Linked DNA regions of Homo sapiens: region 1 is linked to region 2. Evidence: promoter capture Hi-C in 16 types of primary human blood cells and fetal thymus (Javierre and others, 2016). All regions are on one chromosome and are shown on one strand. Each heading gives the region's core, a stretch centred on a gene start or on the middle of the fragment in contact. The rest is flanking DNA. Distances are from core to core; before and after follow the strand shown. Region 1 overlaps DIAPH2 (diaphanous related formin 2). Region 2 holds the start of RPA4 (replication protein A4).

Region 1 (4,939 bases), core at 583-3,082, 550 kb after region 2:
CAGGTGATCTACCCACTTGGGCCTCCCAAATTGCTGGGAGTAGAGGTGTGAGCCACTGTGCCCGGCCATCTAATTGTAATGTTTTAAATTTTATATGTAAACAAGATGAGGTGATAGTCTGTATTCTTCATTAGAAAATCAAAATGTTAATAAATGATATGATTAGTTGCCTAAATTATAAATCGCCCACTCTGAGCCTGTGCCCCCTACCCAAGACCTACCATATTTAGTAACTCAGAAGGAGCTTCCACATATTGCCTCCAGCCCATTCAGCGGATGTGCTGTTTCAGTTAAGTACCAAAAGGCATTTCAAGGTAGACTATCATATCAGTAGTGATAATTGAAAATATTTTTTTTTAATAAAAAACAAAAAGGCTGGGCGTGGTGGCTCATCCCTATAATCCCAGCACTTTGGGAGGCTGAGGTGAGAGGATCATTTGAGCTCAGGAGTTTGAGGACAGCCTGGACAACATAGCAAAACCCCATCTCTACAAAAAAATACAAAAAAAAATTAGCCAAGCATGGTGGCATGTGCCTGTAGTCCCAGCTACTCAGGTGGCTGAGGTGAGAGGATTGCTTGAGCACGGTAGGCAGACGTTGCAATGAGTAGAGATCGTGCCACTGCACTCCAGCCTGGATGACAGAGCCAGACCCTGACTCAAAAAAAGAAAAAAAGAAAATATTAACTGGTGTATCACAGGCCCCAGATAGTCGAAATGTACACAGGTGATAAATAACGACTCTGGTTGTACTGGTGCATACTAGCTGAATATTAACCCAGATCACAAGCTTTGCTGATGTCAAAATCAGAGATTAGGAAATGAGCCCCTAAATATTCATTTATTGTACATCTGCTGTGTAAAAGGTACTATGCTGTACATGATGAGGGAAGATGTAGAAATAATTAAGATAAGATTTCCTTAGTTATAAGACCCTGTGTATTATAGGAACGATAAAAAGCACAGAAAGACTACAGAATAAGGCAGAAGATAATAAGTATCATACAAGAGGTGTTAATAACATACTGTGTGACTTCAGAGAATGGGACTTGCATGCATTATCAGATATATCAGAAAAATAATAATGGAGGAAAAGACTGAAGGATGAGTAGGGATTCCAACAGTGAGAGCTGGAGTTAGGGATAGTGGGCATTTTAGTCAAAAGAAATGTCATTAAGAAAAACAGAGGCAAGAAAGTTCAAAGCATTTTTCAACAATGGCAAACAGTACAGTAAGAAAATAGGATATATATAGCATAGAAGTATAGGGGTAATTCTGGAAAATTAGGTTTGCTCCATATCAGGGAGTGCTTGAATGAGAGACTAAGGTGTTAACTTACAATTCTCTAAGCAATGGGGATTTATTGAAGGCTTTTAAGCAGTGGAGGAACACAAGTTACGCATTAGAATATTTAAAGGAGTATAAGTAATCAATTAGGAGTCTATTGTCATATTCTTATTTAGAGATAATTTAGCGTGAGAGGAGTAGTCAAGAGGCAAAGATAACCCTATGGCTTTGAGTATGACTGGCTAAGAAGACATTTGGGTTACTAAACTTTTTTTTTTTTTTTTTTGAGAAGGAGTCTCACTCTGTCCCCAGGCTGAAGTGCAGTGGTGCGATCTCCGCTCACTGCAACCTCCGCCTCCCAGGTTCAAGCAATTCTCATGCCTCAGCCTCCTGAGTAGCTGGGATTACAGGCACACGCCACCGCACCCAGCTAATTTTTTTTTAATTTTTAGTAGAGACGAGGTTTCATCATATTGGCCAGGATGGTCTCAATCTCCTGACCTCATGATCCGCCCGCCTTGGCCTCCCAAAGTGCTGGGACTACAGGTGTGAGCTACCGCACCCAGCCGTAAGGTTACTAAACTATTAAGATCAAGAAAAGGAGTGGTGATAGTAGAAGAAGGTAAATTCAGTTTTGGATAAGTTAAACTGAAAGTGATAGCAGAACACTGAGGTCAAGATGTCCAGAAGATTTTTGGAAATATAGTTACAGATTTCATGACAAAATGAATTCTTGAGTGTTCTGGATATAGTGTGGATAGGGGAAGGGATTGTTATAGGGATTTTTAAGAGAAAAGAAAACCAAAGACAGAGACTTGGAAACACCTTCACTAAGGGGCTAAAAGAAGATAGACAAGGAGCAATTGGGCAGGTAGGAGAATCCAGACATTATTGTCCTAGAAACAAAGGAAGAGGGAAGTCCTAAGAAGGGAGGAGAGGTGAACATTTTTGACAATGACATACGCTCTGGTGGAATAAAAAAGGGTAAAAAACCGATGATTTGCTATTTGGGAGCTTTCTAATGACTTTTTGAAGAGCATCCTTTCAATATTGTGATGGAACTGGGAAGAGAATACAGAGCTATGCAGAGTAGATGGTGAGGCTATAGGGAAAGATCATATTCATTCAACAGTTGAGCAGTCTTATTGAATGCCTCCTCGGTGCATTATACTGAGTTAGGTACTGAGGATACAAAATCAAACGGGAGCCTAGAGGAGCTCACATACTGTTTGGGAAAACACGAATATAAACCATGTGATCAATTTACAATGCGGTCTTCTATATGCTGTAATAGAGATAGGAACAGTAAGCCTGTGCAGCATAGGAGTTAGAGTAACCACTCCCAACCCCCCACCTCTCTCCTTTGTGTCTGTATAATATGGGCTATTCTTTCTAGCAGTTTGGTGGGTGAAAGGTACATCTCATTTTTCCTTCACAACCTAGTATGGATTTATCTTCTCTGAATTTTGCTAAATCTTTCTTGATCCTGTGTTGTTACAGCCTTTGTTACCACATAAGATAATAAGTTGCATACATTTACCATCTACTTTGTAAAGAATTGCCCTGGCTGTGTAATTGTAAGATCAAAGATAAGCTTTGGAGGAAAAAGAAGCACATAGAGAGACACCTTGCAGGAGTGAAAATGACTCTTTTTTTTTTTCTTTTTTTCCTTTTTTTTTTTTTTGAGATGGACTCTCACTCTGTTGCCCAGGCTGGAGTGCGGTGGCGCGATCTTGGCTCACTGCAAGCTCCGCCTCTCGGGTTCATGCCATTCTCTTGCCTCAGCCTCCCAAGTAGCTGGGACTACAGGGCCTGCCACCACGCCCGGCTAATTTTTGTATTTTTAGTAGAGGCGGGGTTTCACCGTGTTAGCCAGGATGGTCTCAATCTCCTGACCTCGTGATCCACCCTCCTTGGCCTCCAAAAGTGCTGGGATTACAGGCGTGAGCCACCGTGCCCAGCCAGAAAACCACTCTTAAAATACAAATACACAACTCCACATCTGTTTTATTGCCAAATAGCTATAGATACTTAGAGCTTGCTTCTCTTTCTTCAACCAACCCGACTTTTTTATTCTTTGCCCACTGTAAGTAAATATAAATGGGCTTCTCAGCAATAGGTGGATATCTAACTTAGCATTTTGGCTATGACTGGATTTTGATATATAGTTCTAGACATTAAAAAAACACACAAGAGAAGCATTATGAAGAAATGAAACCAGGAAACAATAAATGTATTTTGGTTTTAGAACCACACGGGGCAACCAAGAAAACTAAATTTCAAAAATCAGGAGCAACTCAGGAGACACATGATCCTAGTTTTATGTGTCAGCAAGATAACAGTATAAATGAGAAGGTATAATTTACCATTTGAGAACAGATAGGGGACAAGAAACAATGTTATACAACAGAGAAAAAGAAACCTCCGTATGTATTAGGGAAGAATAATTTCACAGCAAAACAAAACCCACATTTCCCCAGGCCTCACTGCCTCATGTAAATAAGAAAACTCAAATTTTGCTGGCTCTTGTCTCTACATACACATTCAGCACCTCATCTGCTATAAGGGATCTATGAAGCATTTCTGGGAGTTATCAGGGGGCATTTCACAGAAACAAGCAAACACCACCGTTCCTCCACCTCTGCTATAATATCATGCATTTCTACGCTTGCTGTCTTCTGTAGCAGCAGGGACTCATGGCTTCACAACGCCAGAGTTTGACAGTCATCATTGACAAAGTAGGGGGGAAATGCCTCTCTCTTTTCCTTTAGTGCGGCACTCCACCTGTGTACCAAGTAGTACTGCTTATGCCTCAGACTATTACAGATAATTTTAGAGAAAGAGCTTTCAATTTTAAATGACACCCTCCCCCGCCCACCATCACAGAGGATTTGACCCAAGATGGCAAGAGCCAAAGACAAGCTCATAACAGATCCCACGTAATACTCAGCATCATCTTGATGACCAAGGTCTATTGTGGTTTTGTGCTTGTTTTGTTTTATTATTACTAGGTCTTGCTGGTCGTTCATTCCAAGCTGTTTACTTCTTTCTCCCTGAAGATAAGTTCTTCTTCATGAACTTTCTCAGTCTCTGTTTTATAAATGTCAGAATCTTATACTACCACACTAAGCCCCATTTAGTCTATAATACATTCATTATATTGTAATATACAATTAAAATCTGGTTTTAGAAAGTAATGCAAGGAAATAAATAAAAGCATGACATTCATCCAAGTAATACTTATTAATCAAATACTAGGGGCCAGGCAGCAGTGCTAGGGCCTTGGAGTACAAATATGGGTCTTGCCCTTAAAAACTCAGAGCCTCATGGGAAAGACATATGATATAAATTTCATAATATAAGTGTTCAAAAAGTGCTAAAAAGAGCAACTAACCGCCTGGAGAATTCAAGAGAGGCTTCATGATGAAAGTGGCCTTTGATCTATGTTTGGAAGGATGAGTAGTAGTTTGGGGGAAAACAAGAGGAATAGGCTTTTCAGATAAAGGAAATGACAAAAACATGTGATGGAGATATGAAGGAGTAAAGTGGCAATGATGAAAAGTTAGTTTGTTGTAGCAAAGAGCCAGCAGGGGGTTTAAAGTAAAGGATTACATGATTTTACACACACACACACACACACACACACACACACA
Region 2 (5,382 bases), core at 304-2,803:
ATTCTTTTAAAACTTGAAAGGTATATATAACTTTATGTTCTTCTATAAGTTTTAGATATACTCTTCACATATTTCTGTAATTTTGAGATAGCAAAAAGTGAATTATTTTAACCAGTAAAAGAAGTGAGAGCATTAATAAACTTCTCAAAACTCTACTAATTTAGGCTATTAACTAACTACAAAGGATTGTTATTAGGTTACTTGCCAATGGTGGATTCCAGTAACTGTGGTTCCTTTATTAAGCCTTTAAATCAATAACACCCAAAATAAAATGTTTTATAAAGAAAAATAAAATTTCAATAAAATATCAAAACATTCTTGGCCGGGCGTGGGGGCTCACACCTATAATCCCTGCACTTCAGGGGGCTGAGGCAAGTGGATCGCTTGAGTCCAGGAGTTCGAGACCAGCCTGGCCAACATGGTGAAACCCCGTCTCTACCAAAAATACAAAAAAGTCAGCCAGGTGTGGTGATGTGCGCCTGTGGTCCCAGGTATTCACGAGGCTGAGGTGGGAGGATCACCTCAGCCCGGGAGGTGGAGGTTGCAGTGAGCCCATATCCCGCCACTGCACTCCAACCTGGGAGACAGAGCGAGACCCTGTCTCCAAAAAAAAAAAAAAAAAAAAAAAACAAAAAAACAAAAATCCGGGATCTATTTATGTAACTACTAGAATCTTAAGTTCAGAATTTACTCCATAAGAGTATATAAAAAACTTACTGTGATTTTATCCATGTTTTTCCTAATATATAATAGGTCTAAGTCTTGTACTTTTCTGTCCTGTCCACAGAGCCTTGAAAATAATTTAGAGCTCAGTCATTCAGTTTGGATTTATGTATAAATTGAAATATATTAATTACTTATTTATAGTGCACTTGGCAAAATGCCCAGAAAATTACAATTTTAAAACAACAAAAAATTTTTTAAAAGCCAGTGTTAAGATGTGACTTATCTTAGAGTATGATAATCGTTGAAAGACGATTGTCTTGCCATTTCTTCCAAAATGCTCCTAGGTTTTTTGTTTTTTGTTTTTTGTTTTTTTTTTTGAGACGGAGTTTTGTTCTTGTCACCGAGGCTGGAGTGCAGTGGTGCTGTCTCGGTTCACTGCAACCTCTGCCTCCTGGGTTCAAGCGATTCTCCTGCCTCAGCCTCCCGAGTAGCTGGGATTACAAGCCTGCACCACCACGCCTGGCTAATTTTAGTATTTTTAGTAGAGACGGGATTTCACCACGTTGGCAGGCTAGTCTCGAACTCCTGACCTCAAGTAATCAACCTGCCTCAGCCTCCCAAAGTTCTGGGATTACAGGCGTGAGCCACTGCGCCCGGCCTGATGCTCCTAGTTTTAATGGTTTGAATGAACAGGGGACGTGAGTTCTTGAGAACAGTAACTACGGTGGTGCATTTTTCCCCCCTGCACGTAACGTACAGCACTCTACCGTTTTGCCAAGCACTTTGTGCTCCTAAAATTTCTGTTGCATTGTTGTTTGAATGAATGAATAAATGAGTCTTTTAAAAGTAATTGTAGAAGTTGCAGCATTAAGAAATAAAGAGGGGGGCTAGTAAAAATGCATTTTTATAGAGATGTTGGGAAAGGCTTGCTTGAAATTACACGTGGGACTTTTAATAGATAGGCGCTTTGACCAGCTAAGCAACAGGGCTCCCCTCGTGTGGGACTTTTAGAATGTAGCAACCACTGACACACAGGGAAGGATTATGCGATCAGGTGAGAAGGTGGCCGACCCTGACTGGCTGGAAGCAGATGCATTCTGGTAGTTGATTGGTCCACAGGTAGCGTGACGCTTGTCACGTCCTCAGCCTCCCAGCATTCAATCGTAGCCTTTCGGACAGCTCGAAGCCTTCTGTGGAGAGCTCGAAGCCTTCTGTGGAGAACTCAAAGCCGTCCGTGGAGCCCCAGACGAGCCAAAGCCCACCTTCTCCTCAGCCTGAGCTGTCTTGAAGATGAGTAAGAGTGGGTTTGGGAGCTATGGCAGCATTTCTGCTGCTGATGGAGCGAGTGGAGGCAGTGACCAACTGTGTGAGAGAGATGCAACTCCTGCTATTAAGACCCAAAGACCTAAGGTCCGAATTCAGGACGTTGTACCGTGTAATGTGAACCAGCTTCTCAGCTCTACTGTGTTTGACCCTGTGTTCAAGGTTAGGGGAATTATAGTTTCCCAGGTCTCCATCGTGGGGGTAATCAGAGGGGCAGAGAAGGCTTCAAATCACATTTGTTACAAAATTGATGATATGACCGCGAAACCAATCGAGGCCCGACAGTGGTTTGGTAGAGAGAAAGTCAAGCAGGTGACTCCATTGTCAGTCGGAGTATATGTCAAAGTGTTTGGTATCCTCAAATGTCCCACGGGAACAAAGAGCCTTGAGGTATTGAAAATTCATGTCCTAGAGGACATGAACGAGTTCACCGTGCATATTCTGGAAACGGTCAATGCACACATGATGCTGGATAAAGCCCGTCGTGATACCACTGTAGAAAGTGTGCCTGTGTCTCCATCAGAAGTGAATGATGCTGGGGATAACGATGAGAGTCACCGCAATTTCATCCAGGACGAAGTGCTGCGTTTGATTCATGAGTGTCCTCATCAGGAAGGGAAGAGCATCCATGAGCTCCGGGCTCAGCTCTGCGACCTTAGCGTCAAGGCCATCAAGGAAGCGATTGATTATCTGACCGTTGAGGGCCACATCTATCCCACTGTGGATCGGGAGCATTTTAAGTCTGCTGATTGAGGCAGGGAAAACATCCTTTCATTTTTCGAAGACCCTTGCATCCAGCTGTGAGTAATTTTGACCTGTTGACTTTTTAGGAAGTAGGACTAAAAAAAAAAATCTCAAGTGGCATTCTTTGTCAACTCGCTGCTTTTCTAACTGCTTTGAACTTTTCGGATTTTCTGTATTTGAAGCTCAGAGAGAGACGGTGATGGATAAATTGACAACTCTGTAGGATTTACTAGCAAGCTAATGGAAACATGATTTTCGGGGAAGAAAAACTACAGAAAATGTAGAAATTTATTATTTAATTGTGTTGGAGCTTCTTTTTCCAAAAGAAAAACTAGTTGCAGTCAGGGAGCCAGCGAAAAGACAAAAAAAAAAAAAAAAAAAAAAAAAGTCTTGCTTGTTTTTATGTTAGACTTATTTTCCGTGTTTGGATTTAGCTTATTATAATGATACTGTTATCTCTTGCTCAATATAGTATTTAGTATTTGATTAATTCAAATGAGCTGAAGATACTAATTTGTGAATTCTAATGCTCAGTTCAAACATTTATGTGTGATTTGCTCTTATTACTATGAATTTATGTTTTCTTAAAATAAGATTATACTGTGTTTAAATAAACCATTTTTGCCAGGTTATCTTTGAAATTTTTTAAAATGTGGTGAAGTTCAATGATTATTTCATATATGATGTGGTATTTGGATGAAATTACAATTTATTGTAGTTGTATGGTAAATGGATGCCAGAGTTTCTGTAAGTTTGATGTGCTGGTGTATTATTTATTTTACTAAATGCTCTGTTTTATGTATAAAAAGGTAATTTTTAGGACGTTAGGGAAACAGCTCATAGGAATATGAAACTTACTGAGTTTAACACAAATTTATTCAAATGTTTTATTAAAGTAGTTTACAAAATCTTAACTTTCCTGTGTGATTTTTTTTTCTAAGTACATTTGAAAAAGCCTTTTTGTTTTATATCCTTGAGGATTAATAGTTTCACTTATCCAGAATTTTTTCTTTTCTATATATAAAATACCCAGAACATATGCTATAGCCTAGTTCTAACAATACATTTTAGTGTAGATTATATAAATTATGTGAGACTTTTAAATAATTGACCATTAACGAAAGCCCTCAGTTACCTATACACTAAAGATGGTGTCTTTCAAGATGCTAATTTTTTTACATTAGAGGAAATAAAAAACATATACTTTTTAATGAATATATGTTATATTTTATATATGTATATTCATATATAATATACAAATAGAAGAACATTATTTGTCAAATTGAATCATGAAAACTGCAACAAAAAAAAAATCTCTTAAATGGAACATTGCCAGTACTCCGTACTTTCAGGAAAACTTTCAGAAAATGGCCTGTGTCAGTGGCCATTAGAAAAACCACTAATTCTTGCTTAAGCTTTGTGATGCATATTTTTCTTCCCCTTGAAAGTAAAGAAATTGTAAATGGCACTCTTGAAAAGCACAGATGAATAACATACTATAAACCTGTTACTTAAATTATCAGACATTTTGAAAATTCTGGTCTTCATAAACCTAAAATATTCGGAACCACTTTTTGTTGAAAAAGGTTACCTGTCCTAGGGAAAATCATACTGGGGGAGAGGCAACAAGGGGCATATATACTTGGAATTGTGGAGCTGAAAGAGTCTAGCAGATACAATATTCTTTTGTGACATTAAAATCTGATATTTATGAGTATAATTATAGGTCACTCCCATAATTGCTTGAGCTGATTCAGCTGGCCAGTGGATGCGTAGCCACTTGTTTTTCCTATACTAGGAGCATGCGGAGGGGGAAAAAAACTCTTTTTTTTTTGTTTGGGAGGCCAAACTGCTTTTGTCCCTGCAAACTGATACACTGAGATATGTACACCTGAATTTAAGGCAGAAGACCAACCTCTCTCCCATCCTGTGAGGGGAAATGTCCTCTATCTGTGTTCGTTGGGGTTTTTTTAGGCTTTTAAAATTACTCCTCCCAACGCTTATTCTTCTGAATGGAATCGTGTGCTTTAGTGGATTCTGCTGCAGGTAAGAGATAGCAGTGGAAAAATAGTAAGTAGGTCTAGATATAATGTCAGTGGAAATAAAACACTTTTAGGCAGAAAATCACTGGATTGTTTTATACATGTATATTTAGTCCATGTTAAAGGTAGCAGATTTTTAAAGTTCATTTTGAACACCCACCTGGCATGCATACTTTTTCAATTTTGTTTAGACTGGGAATGACTTGGCTAATATCCCCTTTCTCCAAGGTCCTGCCCTGATAGTTAGCCACACCTTTTGAGGATAAGATACAAATCCTGGGGACATACTATTGACTATTTTGGGCAGGGACATTTAAGCCTGAGGAACCTGAAAAACATAATTGATGATTATAATCCACCCAAGGTTTTTTCCTATGGCTCACAGGCTTACGAAATGTATGTATTTATATTGAGGTTGATTCTAAATTAACTATGAATAAATATATTTGAAAGTGTTTTCAAGGCCAATATAATAATCTTACTATGGTCATAATTATTAGTGATCATTTTGTTACTTTTACCTACTAAATTTAGTAATATTTGGAGTAGAAGCTGAAAAACATAAGTTCTTATATTTTTTCAATTTCTGTTTACTTTTTATAACAGC

Evidence for each region. Contacts are between HindIII fragments. The CHiCAGO score rates a contact against its expected background, and 5 or more counts as called.
Region 1: a contact is called between a fragment that was not itself captured here and the fragment with the promoter of RPA4 in region 2, in 1 of 17 cell types (neutrophils). The highest score is 5.9, in neutrophils.

What each region holds. Positions count from the first base shown.
Region 1 is chrX:97,432,856-97,437,794 of GRCh38, forward strand. The region is part of intron 26 of DIAPH2 (diaphanous related formin 2); the gene reads left to right. Among named protein-coding and RNA genes, the nearest start is that of DIAPH2-AS1, 130 kb to the right of the region's middle. The HindIII fragment of the contact is 2,091 bases long and covers 788-2,878 here.
Region 2 is chrX:96,882,355-96,887,736 of GRCh38, forward strand. RPA4 (replication protein A4) reads left to right here and starts at 1,554. Exons shown (of 1, transcript NM_013347.4): 1 at 1,554-3,113. The coding sequence starts at 1,957. The coding sequence ends at 2,742. The region is part of intron 5 of DIAPH2 (diaphanous related formin 2); the gene reads left to right. The HindIII fragment of the contact is 5,808 bases long and covers 1-4,146 here.